Regions from separate parts of the Homo sapiens genome. Here all the other regions are linked to region 4. The links are contacts of gene promoters, found by promoter capture Hi-C in blood cells and fetal thymus (Javierre and others, 2016). All regions are on one chromosome and are shown on one strand. Each heading gives the region's core, a stretch centred on a gene start or on the middle of the fragment in contact. The rest is flanking DNA. Distances are from core to core; before and after follow the strand shown.

Region 1 (2,700 bases), core at 40-2,539, 77 kb after region 4:
CTGTGTCCTGGGAAACCCCTCAGTCCCAGGCACGCCGGTATGGGTGGACGCCCTCTCCACTTCTGCCCCCAGCCACTTCACTCTGCTGCAGCCACTAGGTTTGTCCGTCCTGGGAGAGTAACTCAGGGCCTTGGAAAAATGGCCAACTGGCCAGGCGCGATGGCTCACGCCTGTAATCCCAGAACTTTGGGAGGCTGGGGCAGGTGGATCACTTGAGGTCAGGAGTTCAAGACCAGCCTGGCCAACATGGTGAAACCCCGGCTCTACTAAAAATACAAAATAATAATAATAATAAGCTGGGCATGGTGGTGTGCACCTGTAGTCCCAGCTACTCAGGAGGCTGAGGCAACAGAATTGCTTGAATCCGGCAGGCAGAGATTGTAGTGAGCCGCTGCACTCCAGCCTGGGTGACAGAGCAAGACTCTGTCTCAAAAAAAAAAGGGGGGGGGGCAACGAAGCACCTGGCAGGTGGCGTCGCTGCCCTTTGTGTGGCAGCGGCTATTTTTGCCTGATTCCTTCATACAGTTGAGACCCGGCTGCCTGTGTTGGCCCCTTCGTGCAAATCAGAAAAAAAGGTGCTCTTCCTTGGAGTGGGTGCAGGCCTAGGCCAAATGCACAGGTCTGAGAGAGGGCCAAGCTGAATTCTAACCCACTTGCCCTTTGGCTGGTATCCTTGTGCAGTGAGTAATCTGCCCAACTGTACACAGAGGCCCTGTGGGCCTGGGAGCAGCAATGATTGTTGCTGGACTCAGGAGCCCTGGATCCCCAGCTCCAGGCCTATGTGCAAACAGGGAGGCATGACCCCCACTTGCCTGTGTAGAGAGAGGGGTGCCCTGGCCGGGCGCGGTGGCTCACACCTGTAATCCCTACACTTTGGGAGGCCGAGGCGGGTGGATCACCAGAGGTCAGGAGTTTGAGACCAGCCTGGCCAAGATGGCGAAACCCTGTCTCTACTAAAAATACAAAAATTAGCTGGGCGTGGTGGCACGCGCCTGTAATCCCAGCTACTTGGGAGGCCGAGGCAGGAGAATCGTTTGAACCCAGGAGGCAGAGGCTGCAGTGAGCGGACATTGCATCACTGTACTCCAGCCTGGGTGACAGAGTGAGACCCTGTCTCAAAAAAAATAAAAATAAAAAAGAGAGAGAGACTGAGAGGGGTGCCCACCTGAGAGCTAGAGGCAGGAGCTTACCTGGCTGCGGTAGCTGCAACGGCCGTGTGGAGCCTCCTCGCTTCCAGCCACAGGATCCCTCTGCAGACTGGTCCTTTGACCCAGAAGCCTCTCCCAGTATGGAGCGTGGTCAGGCTGATCCCAGGAAATGCTTCAGAAAAGAGTCTACTTTCGATTTCCAGAAACCACCTGACATAGATGTCTTCCGGGATTGGCTGCTGCTGATACTCCCCAGGGCCCCTCTCTTTTGTCTCAGCTCTGCCTGTGGCTATCAGTGCCAGGCTGGCAGAGGCCCAAGGTGGGAGTCTGGCTGGAGCAAGGCCTGCAAGAGGACTAACAGCCACACTCAGTTGGAAAGGCCGCCAGGCTGGTCAGGGGCTGGCGTTTGGTGGACGGGAGGGGAAGAAGCAGAGGCTCTGGGCCCAGACAGTCTGCACCTGGTGGTGTGGCTGTGGACTCTGACAGAGCGCTCCGAGTCTTTTCCTGGGTCTAGCACGTTGCTGGCTGGGTGAACACCACACAGGGGGCTGCTTATGTGCAAATCCACCCTCTCTGTGCTCTTGGCATGCTGACCACACAGAGGGCCTGTGCCCCACAAGGTTGCATGGCACTGTCCCCTGTCCCCAGGGGAGGGAGGCACTGAGAACCAGGTATGCAGCTGGCCAGTGGAGGAGCTGGACCCTGCTCCAACACCTGACCCCAGAGCCTGTGCTCGCCACTGCTGGACCTGTGGCCACTCTCCTACTGTCTCCCCCTCAGCGGGGCGGGGGACAGAGCCTCTCTGGGTGACATAATGGCTCTGTCCAGCTCATACCCATTCCCTTTCCTCCCACTGAAAGCCGGCACCTCAACTGTCCCTTGGGGAGCACCCCCTCCCATTCCCGGCTGTGTGGTTCCCAGAGGGCCCCCAGCTCTTGGCCTTCAACCACCCAAGGCCTGGCTGTCTGAGCCCTGCGGGGGCCCCGGGCCACACTGCTGGTTTCAGGGTGGGGCTGTGAGCCCAGCCAGCCGGTGAGAGCCAGCTTCTGACTGAGAGGATGTGGGCCCAGGCTGCTGGGGCCGGTGGGGCAGAGCAGAGGGAAGCAGGCATCCTCCGGCCTGAGCTCCTGGGTCCAGCTGGCCTAATCCATGGTCAAGGCTGGGCTTCACCGCTCAGTGAGGCAATCAGCAGCCGCTCTTGTTTCTGTCACTTGCACCCCATGGTTCTGGATGAGCCTTGGGATGTGCCCAGGCCTCTGACCAGTGGTTCTCAGCCTGGGCTGGACAGAAGAATCATCAGGGAGTTTTACAAACTCCTAATGCCTAGACCCAGGAAGTCACCATCTCTGGGAGTAGGGGACAGGCAGGGGCATTTAAAAGCCCCCAGGCAGTCCCACTGGGTGGAAGGCCCTGGTTCCCTGGCAGCTTAGAGTCCGAGACAGCCAGCCCAGAGGTCAGACATTCAATGACTATTTCCTTCAAGGTGTGAGGTTTTAGGCAGCTGCACGGTTTGCCTAATCCCCTCCAGAGGAACTGTGAAGATCCAGGGGCA
Region 2 (2,700 bases), core at 19-2,518, 110 kb after region 4:
CAAACCTCTGCTTTGTTGAAAATGTGGTAGGAAAGGCCATAGGGCATACAACCTCAAGAATAAAATAAGAAATGGAGCTGGGACACTAAGAGACGGCTTTTCCAGGGGTCACTAAGGGGGAAAGGTGTTTGGGAGAGAGATGTGTCTGCTGATGGAAGAGTGGTCACAGGTGCTCTGTGCCAAGCCTAGGGTACACAGAGGGCAAGGGAAAGACCATTCGGAGGGAGAAGCAAAGGCACCAGGCAACATGGACTGGCAAGGAGGTACCAGTCTCCAAGGATGAGAGAATCCAGACCGGATGGCAGTAGGGGTGTGAGACAGGTATGGTGGGGAGGGCGAATCATTTGCATGCAGGAAGATGAGAGTGAGCTGTGTGCCTGGAGGAAGGCTCCAAATTGGATGAGGGCAGGGAGAGCAAGGACTGGGATGGGGTGGGGAAGGTTGGCCTGTTACAGGTTTGACCAAGTGCCAGTCAGAGGGAGAAAATTCCCTTATCAGTCCAAGGAGACCCTGCATAGACCAGAGGAGGGGTATTTGAAGTCAGAAGGTGGTGGGAGGGGGTCATTCCCAGGAGGGGTGCCCCACACTAGCCAGAGCGGGGAGGCGTCCCACACTAATCAGAGGGGGATGGTCCCCACACTAACCAGAGGGGGAGGTGCCCCACATGAATCAGAGGGGGGTGGTCCCCACACTAATCAGAGCGGGGAGGTGCCCCACAGTAATCAGAGGGGGATGGTCCCCAAACTAATTAGAAGGGGGGTGTCCCACACTAATCAGAGCGGGGAGGAGTCACATAATCAGAGGGGGGAGGTGCCCACACTAATCAGAGGGGAATGGTCCCCACACTAATTAGAGAGGAGGGGTGCCCACACTAACCAGAGGGTAATGGTCCCCACGCTAGTCCCAGGGATGAGGTGTCCCAAAAGTCAGAGGGGGTGGTGTCCACCGCCTGTCGGAAGAAGGGGACTTTCCCACAGGTCAGAGGGCAGAGTCCCAGCCCAGTCTGCGAGTCAGGGGGCAGAGATCCCGCACGGGTGGGACGGGAAGGGGGCCTGACGGGTCAGGGGGCGGGACGCGGCAGGGTCGGAGGGCGGCGGCAGGCTCCGGGACGGGGGTCCGGGCCCGTGGCTGGGGCAGGGCGCCGGCGGCCGCGGGCGCAGTCACTCACCCGCTGCGGGGCTGGCTCCGGTGCCCGCGATCGGCGGGGCTTGGCTGGGCTTGGCTGGGCTTGGCTGGGCTAACGGCCGGGACGGAGGAAGGTGGCCGACTTCCGCCCCGCGCGCGCTCGCCCCGCCTCTGGGCCCGCGTTCCCGGCAGCCTCTGCTCTGCGGCTGCGCGCGGACGGCGCGAGGGCTGCTGGGAGCTGTGGTTTGTGTTTTTTTGGGTTTTTTTTTTGTTGTTTTTTTGTGTTTTTTTTTTCCGTCCTGCGCCTGCGCGCTGGAGGAGCGGCCGGCTGGCTGCAGGCTGGAGGGGCGCGAGGGTCCGCACTGGCACATGAGGGCCGTCTTCCACCGCGTTGCGCTGGAACGTGGGCCCAGCAGATCTTTTGGGGTGGGAGGCATTGAGGGGGGTGAAGGCTACTAGGGAGGGAAGTTCTCATTCTCCGAGCGAGGGCCCCCTTACATGGGCCTCCCGACCCTCGTAGTCTTGGGAGGCGGAAAACCGTGGGCCCCTTTCTGCCATCCTCATTCTCAGGCAGCCCCTCTCCTTGGCCCTTCAAAACAGCCGCCTCCAGAGTGCTGCTGACCAGTTGCCAAAGCCAGGATCAGGGAGGTCTAAGGCTGTAGTGTCCTGGGGTGGGGACGGTGGGGTGTTTCCCTGCAAAAAATCTGCAGTTGACAAACCTGCCAAACAAGGGTCTCTGATTTCTCCTTTCCCCTCCGTAGCCCTAGCCCCCGAGATATTTTAGGGCACTCTGTTAAAAGGCTTCCCCGGCCCCGCCCTCCTCCATCCCAAAGTTCTGAGAAAGGCCTGGTGGCCGTGGAGCCTCTGGCAGGAGAGCTTGGCAGAAGGGTGCACCAGCCCCCTGCCCATCTGCACCTTCAGCTTTCCTGCTTGATACCAGCTACTTCCCCCAGCTCTCTCAAAACCTTCCGTTCAGTAAAAGATACACAAGAGGAGGAATTCAAATTATATAAATGGTACGCAATGAAAAATAAGCCTCCCATTGCCGTTCTGTATTCCCTGCCCAGAGGCGATCACTAGATGTTATATGGTATCCAAACAAGTCATAAACACGTATCTTAAATTACCTTTAACTAAATAGAAATGTGCTAAACACTGTTATGCACTTTTGGTTTTTGATTTTGGAGAGGAGACAAACCTTTCTTGAATTCATTAATGTTTCTTGTCATGCTAAACTGAGTCCCAACCATGTCTCACATAATACTCATTATTGTCAGGCCTCTGAGCCCAAGCTAAGCCATCATATCCCCTGTGACCTGCACATATACATCCAGATGGCCTGAAGCAACTGAAGAACCACAAAAGATGACATTCCACCATTGTGATCTGTTCCTGCCCCACCCTCACTGATCAATTGACCTTATGACAATACACCCTCCCCACCCTTAGGATAATGTACTTCGTGATATTCCCTCACCCTTAAGAAGGTACTTTGTAATATTTTTCCCACCCTTGAGAATGTACTTTGTGAGATCCACCCCCTGCCCACAAAAAATTGCTCCTAACTCCACCACC
Region 3 (2,700 bases), core at 156-2,655, 120 kb after region 4:
GGTTCAAGCGATTCTCCTGCCTCAGCCTCCCAAGTAGCTGGATTAGAGGTGTGTACCACCACGCCTGGCTAATTTTGTATTTTTAGTAGAGACTGGGTTTCACCCTGTTGGTCAGGCTGGTCTCAAACTCTTGACCTCAAGTGATCCACCCGCTTCAACCTTCCAAAGTGCTGGGATTACAGGGGTGAGCCACCGCGCCTGGCCTCCGGGGCGTATACTTTTAACCTTCCTATCTGGTGTTGGGAACATGGCACTCAGCTCGCCAAGCTGATGCTGGGAACTTCTCTCTCCCAGCTGCTAACAGAGAATGCCCAGGGGCAGGAAGGACACAGGTCCGCTACCCAGGGACTCTCTACTTCTCCTCCCGCCTCCCTCTCCTCCTCTTGTGTTGCCAAGGGTGGTGTCCCCAGTGAGCTCATTCAGGGAGGCAGGAAGCATGGTGCAGGAAGCCCTAGGTGGGCGCTGTGCGGCTACAGGACACCACTGCCCCTCCCAGGCAGGTGCAGCCAGCTGGCGAGGGACGTCCTCCCAAGTAGGAGCAGAGAAAGCCCAAGCTGTCCCAGGAAGGCCATGGGTTCCCTCCTTGTTCCTAGGAAGTGACCCCCCTTTTCAGGGCAACCAGGACAACAGAGTGTTTTTGGAACATGCTCCTTTCTGTTCTTCTTCCTGGTGCCTCCCCCCAGCTGTAATTAGCATGACTCATAAACCAAATATTCTGGCATTGAACTTTGCTCATCAAAACAAAGATGAAAAGAATTTCATAGATACAGTTGTGCGCAGGGACTGGAGCTTCCCATTTGTGTCTTGTCCTCAGGGGTCCCTGTTCCTGGGCGGGGGGGGGCTGTGGCTGAGGCTCCAGAACCTTAGGGAAGGGGTGGGGGTGACGGACACCAGGAAGGGCAGGAAGAAGTAGCAGGTTACACCATCCCCTGGACGATCCCACCTCTGCCTGACAATCAGTAGCCTCTAGAGATGTTCAAGTGGGGGCACTCCCTCATGGGCCACAGGTTGCCATTTCCCCTGTTAACCTGCTGAAATTGGCCTGCTGGTGTCAAATGGCACAAGGCAGCTCTCTGGACAGGACCCTGCCATCTCCCTGACCCCTTCATACAGGGCAAGAACTCACCTGCCCACTTTAGAGAGCAGTCTGGAAGAAACAGCGACGTCAGCTCAGCTCAACAATGTGTTTCCTTCAGGCTCTCTTGGGGCAGCCCAGCAAGCCGCTCTCATGAGCCAGGGATCCTTGGGGCCCTGTCCTGGGGTCTATGCTGGGGTCCTTGGCCTGGAAGGGCCAGTCCTGAGCTTAAGCAGGGACATGCAGGAGCAGGACATGCTCACTCCTTTCCTCCTTCCCGAGCCCCGCAGTGAGATGCTCCAACTGCTGCCGCTGCAGCCTCTAGTTCTCTGGGAGAGGCATGCGGTGTGAGCAGGAAGGGAGGGGCTTCGGAGCCATGTGGGAAGGATCTTTATCTCTGGGTCCTTGTCAAGGTCACGGCTGTGTGACACTTGTGCTGGGGTGATATGAGTGGCTCTTGGCAAATCAGCACCCCTCCAGCTGCCTGTTCTTGCCTACATTTGATTTCCAGAGCTGGGCTTGGCATCTGAATGTGGTTCAAAGGGGGATGGTCTCCAGCAGGGGCACGGGGACCCCCACAGTCCCCACTGTACACCAGGGCACTGCTATCTTGCCTCTGAGGCCCCCTGGATCTAAGCCGTTCTCCAGCTTCAGATGGGGCTGGCACAGACTGCAGGCCCCTCCCCGGGCCCCCATCCTGTCCAGGACGGCCGTCGGGACGGCTGTGGCCGGGCCGGTGTCTGCCCATCTCCCTGGCTCCTGTAGGAATTTTCCTTGACACGAGACAGAGTAGAGCAGGAGACGGCAGGCAGGGAGGCAGGAGTCGAGGGGAGGAGGAGAAGAGGCAGACAGGCAGGCGGGGCATGGGGAAGTCAAGTTCTTGGTGCCCTGTGCTGGGTCAAATGTTGTTCTTGGCCACGGCTAAAGCCACACTTGGTGGAATGCCCCAAACCCTATGCTTTGGGTTGTACCCATCCCCCTCAGCAAGACATCTGGATAACAGCCACCCTCTGCCCTGGGGAGCAGGGAAGCTGCTGGGAAAGCTGCCAGCCCTGGGTGGGTTCGAGGCAGATGTAGGTCAGAAGGCGGGCAGGGCCCCCTGACTCTGCCCACAGGTTCCTGGGGCCAGTCTTCAGAGCTGGGGACAGAGGTGTGTTCAGAAAACGCTTAGACCCATTCTCCTTGTAAAGAATCTAAAGTGAGAGATGGAAGGATCTGGGTGGGTTAGGGGGTGACCACAGGTCTCTTGCGTCCTCTGGCATTCAGGGGAGCCCCCTCCTCCATGAAAGGATATCAATGAGGGCAAGGCCCATGGTCCTGAGGGTCCTCCCCGTGTGGTGCGTGAACTTAGATTCCTTTGCAACTCAGAGCTCAGGTCTGCTTGTGCCCATTAGAGGGCACTGGTCGGGAGAGAAAAATCATCTGTACCCCAGCACATGGGTCTTTTCCTCCCTTCTTCAGAGCTTGCCAGCATGCTGGTGTCTCTTCACCCTACAAAAGCAGTGCCCTAAAAATGCACATCCGATGGGCCACACTGCCCAAGCCCCTCACATTTTAAGGTGTGTGTGTGTGTGTGTGTGTGTGTGTGCATGCACGCGCGGGTGTTCCTGGTGATCCTGTGCCTA
Region 4 (2,700 bases), core at 127-2,626:
ACATTACAGGGAGGCAGAAGCTGACAGGAGGGCAGGAAGCACTGTCTCCAGGGCTGTCTTGAAATCACTGGGCTGACTTTGTAGGTAGTGAGACGCCCATCACTGGAGGCATCCGAACCAAGCCCAGATAAAACAAACATCAGAAACATTTTTAACTCCGTTTCTCTGAGTTCTAGCCTCTAAAAATACCCTCCATGACACGCTGTGTGCTGCCAGAGGCTTGGTTTTCGCCCTCTTCTCCCCAACTCTTAGCCACGTCCCAGTGGTGGCGGGGGGACGGGGGTCCCAAGCCACTGCACTGGGTTTTGGTTTCACTATGTTGCCCAGGCTGGAGTGCAGTGGTGCGATCTCAGCTTACTGCAACCTCCACCTTCCGGGTTCAAGCAATTCTCCTGTCTCAGCCTTCCCAAGTAGCTGGGACTACAGGCGCACGCCACCACACCCAGCTAATTTTTGTATTTTTAGTAGAGACGGGGATTCACCATATTGGTCAGACTGGTTACAAACTCCTGACCTCAGGTGATCCACTCGCCTCGGCCTCCCAAAGTGCTGGGATTCCAGGCATGAGCCACCATGCCCAGCCTGCACTGGGTTTTGGACTGGCTGTGTTAGCATCACCTGGGGCAGGGGTGGGTCACGTTAGAATGAGTCCTGGCTAGGCCCACAGCAGGCTTTTCCACCCGAATACTGGGGCCACAGCTCATGAATCTGTGTGTATCCATATCCTGGGCTGGGTCAGCTCTCCAGGGTGGAGATGGTTGGGCAGGCAGCCTCTGGGGGCAAGCTCGGGCTCAGGCCTCCCCTTGACCAGCTTCACAGAGACAGACACTGAGGCAGACTGACCTCCAAACTCCCAGCTGAGACGCCAGCTCCCCACGTGGGGGGCTTACAGCTGATGCAACCGGTGGCTCACTAAACATACCTCGACAGCGTCCATTACCGCTTCCCTGCAAACCTCAAGATCCTAAGCACCCAGCCTAGGTCAGGGGTCCCCAATCCCAGCAGGTGTTCCTGCTTCCTGAAGACCCCCCAGCCCAACTCCTCCAACAACCATATTCATCTCCAACCCAGTCCCACCAGCTTCCCTCACTCTCCTTCCCATCACACTGCCTGTGGGGAGCCCCGTGGTGCAGGGACTTTGCCGCTGGCCTTGCGAACCCACGGCTTGGAGCCCCTCCTTGGCCCACTCTCCGGGGCCCTCTTGGGAGCCTCGCTAAACAGCTGGGCATGGAAAGAACCCCACCCTCACCACAGATGGGAACAGACACAGAGAGCCTCAGCCCCGCAGTGGTCTCAGGGGCCCACTGACCAAAGGTGGCCGGAATCGCTTCCCCGCCTCCACCTGCAGCCCGGCCTCTGCCCTGGCTGGCTACTCATAGCAGGCTGTTGCCATGGGAACAGCAGAGCTGTTGAGCTGTGACATCATGGCAGGGGTGAGGTCAGGGACAGCTGTGAGCCAGCCAGGGGGCAAGCGTGTAGGTTAGGGGATCAATCATAAAGATTTGGCTCAAGCAGCCGGGAGCCATGGGGGCACCTGAAGGCACTGTTTAAGGAGGTGTGGGTGAACAAGGACAGTGCAATGTACAAATGCTCGTGGCCATACCAGGCAGAGGACATCTTTTTGTCCCCAGCTGGCTGCATGGAGACCTCCCAGGGTGTCATTCTCTCTGAGCTGTCAGGCCATTAAGGAGGTACACTTCAAGGTCAGGGTTCCTGACAACGCCTGCCATCCCTTCTCCTGTAGGGACAGCATCTGTTCACGCTTCTAAACAGCTCCAGAAAGCCATCGTTAAACTGAAACCCACTGGAGGCGGGGGAAGAAAGAATCCCGTCAACCACCTGCCCACACAGGAGGAGAAGCCACACGTACTTGGCCTCGTTTGAGGGCTAGTTCCCCACAGACAGTTTGATCAGAAGGATGGGCGAGGGAAGCTGGCAGGGCGAGGCTGGGGATGAACATGGGACACTGGGGGAGTCTGGCCGGTGCAGGGGGTTTCCAGGAAGCAGGAGTAGCTGCTGGAAATGGGGGCCCCTGACCTAGTCTGGGTGGTTGGCATCTTAAGGTCTGTGGTAAAGTGATGACTGGCATTGTCAAGATATGTTTTTTGTTTGTTTTTTAGACAGTCTTGCTCTGTTGCCCAGGCTGGAGTACGGTGGCGCAATCTCGGCTCACTGCAACCTCTGCCTCCCGGGTTCAGGGATTCTAGTGCCTCAGCTTTCTGAGTAGCTGGGACTACAGGTGCATGCCACCATGCCCAGCTAATTTATGTGTGTGTGTGTGTGTTTTAGCAGAGACGGGGTTTTACCATGTTGGCTAGGCGGGTCTTGAACTCCTGACCTCAAGCGATTCCCCTGCCTCGACCTCCCAAAGTGCTAGGATTATAGGCACGAGCCACCGCCCCCAGCCCAAGATATGTTTTAGTAAGCCGCCAGTTGGATCATCTGTAAGCAACTCACTAGAAGCTTCCAGCATCCTCCACAAATTTGACAACTGAGAAATGTGGCTGGGAAATCATGATTTGGGTCCGAAGAAGTGAAAGCAACAATCCTCAGGTTGTTGTTTCTTGAGAGAAGAAGGTAAACAGCAGGAATTCGGCTGAGGTGTCCAAATCTCGGGGAGGATGAATTCTCAGGAGAGCTGAACCTGAGACAAAGCCCTTTGTCCTGGGCTGGAAGGACCCTGGAAAGGTTATCTGGTCC

What was found. Contacts are between HindIII fragments. The CHiCAGO score rates a contact against its expected background, and 5 or more counts as called.
Region 1: the fragment with the promoter of LGALS3BP here is called in contact with the fragment with the promoter of CEP295NL in region 4 in 6 of 17 cell types (neutrophils, total B cells, M2 macrophages and 3 more); the score reaches 8.7 in neutrophils.
Region 2: the fragment with the promoter of CANT1 here is called in contact with the fragment with the promoter of CEP295NL in region 4 in 5 of 17 cell types (neutrophils, total B cells, endothelial precursors and 2 more); the score reaches 10.4 in neutrophils.
Region 3: the fragment with the promoter of C1QTNF1-AS1 here is called in contact with the fragment with the promoter of CEP295NL in region 4 in 6 of 17 cell types (erythroblasts, neutrophils, total B cells and 3 more); the score reaches 12.2 in erythroblasts.

What each region holds. Positions count from the first base shown.
Region 1 is chr17:78,978,634-78,981,333 of GRCh38, forward strand. LGALS3BP (galectin 3 binding protein) reads right to left here and starts at 1,290. Exons shown (of 6, transcript NM_005567.4): 1 at 1,191-1,290. RefSeq lists an enhancer at 1,324-2,316. The HindIII fragment of the contact is 6,269 bases long and covers 1-2,700 here.
Region 2 is chr17:79,008,496-79,011,195 of GRCh38, forward strand. It overlaps CANT1 (calcium activated nucleotidase 1), which reads right to left and starts at 1,269. Exons shown (of 5, transcript NM_001159773.2): 1 at 1,169-1,269. RefSeq lists a silencer at 989-1,368 and an enhancer at 1,609-1,658. The HindIII fragment of the contact is 10,955 bases long and covers 1-2,700 here.
Region 3 is chr17:79,026,250-79,028,949 of GRCh38, forward strand. It overlaps C1QTNF1-AS1 (C1QTNF1 antisense RNA 1), which reads right to left and starts at 1,406. Exons shown (of 3, transcript NR_040019.1): 1 at 1,127-1,406. All of the region lies in intron 1 of C1QTNF1 (C1q and TNF related 1), which reads left to right. The HindIII fragment of the contact is 3,661 bases long and covers 1-2,700 here.
Region 4 is chr17:78,901,825-78,904,524 of GRCh38, forward strand. CEP295NL (CEP295 N-terminal like) reads right to left here and starts at 1,377. Exons shown (of 3, transcript NM_001243540.2): 1 at 1,310-1,377; 2 at 1-102. The coding sequence starts at 4. The region is part of intron 1 of TIMP2 (TIMP metallopeptidase inhibitor 2); the gene reads right to left. RefSeq lists an enhancer at 556-1,156. The HindIII fragment of the contact is 4,047 bases long and covers 1-2,461 here.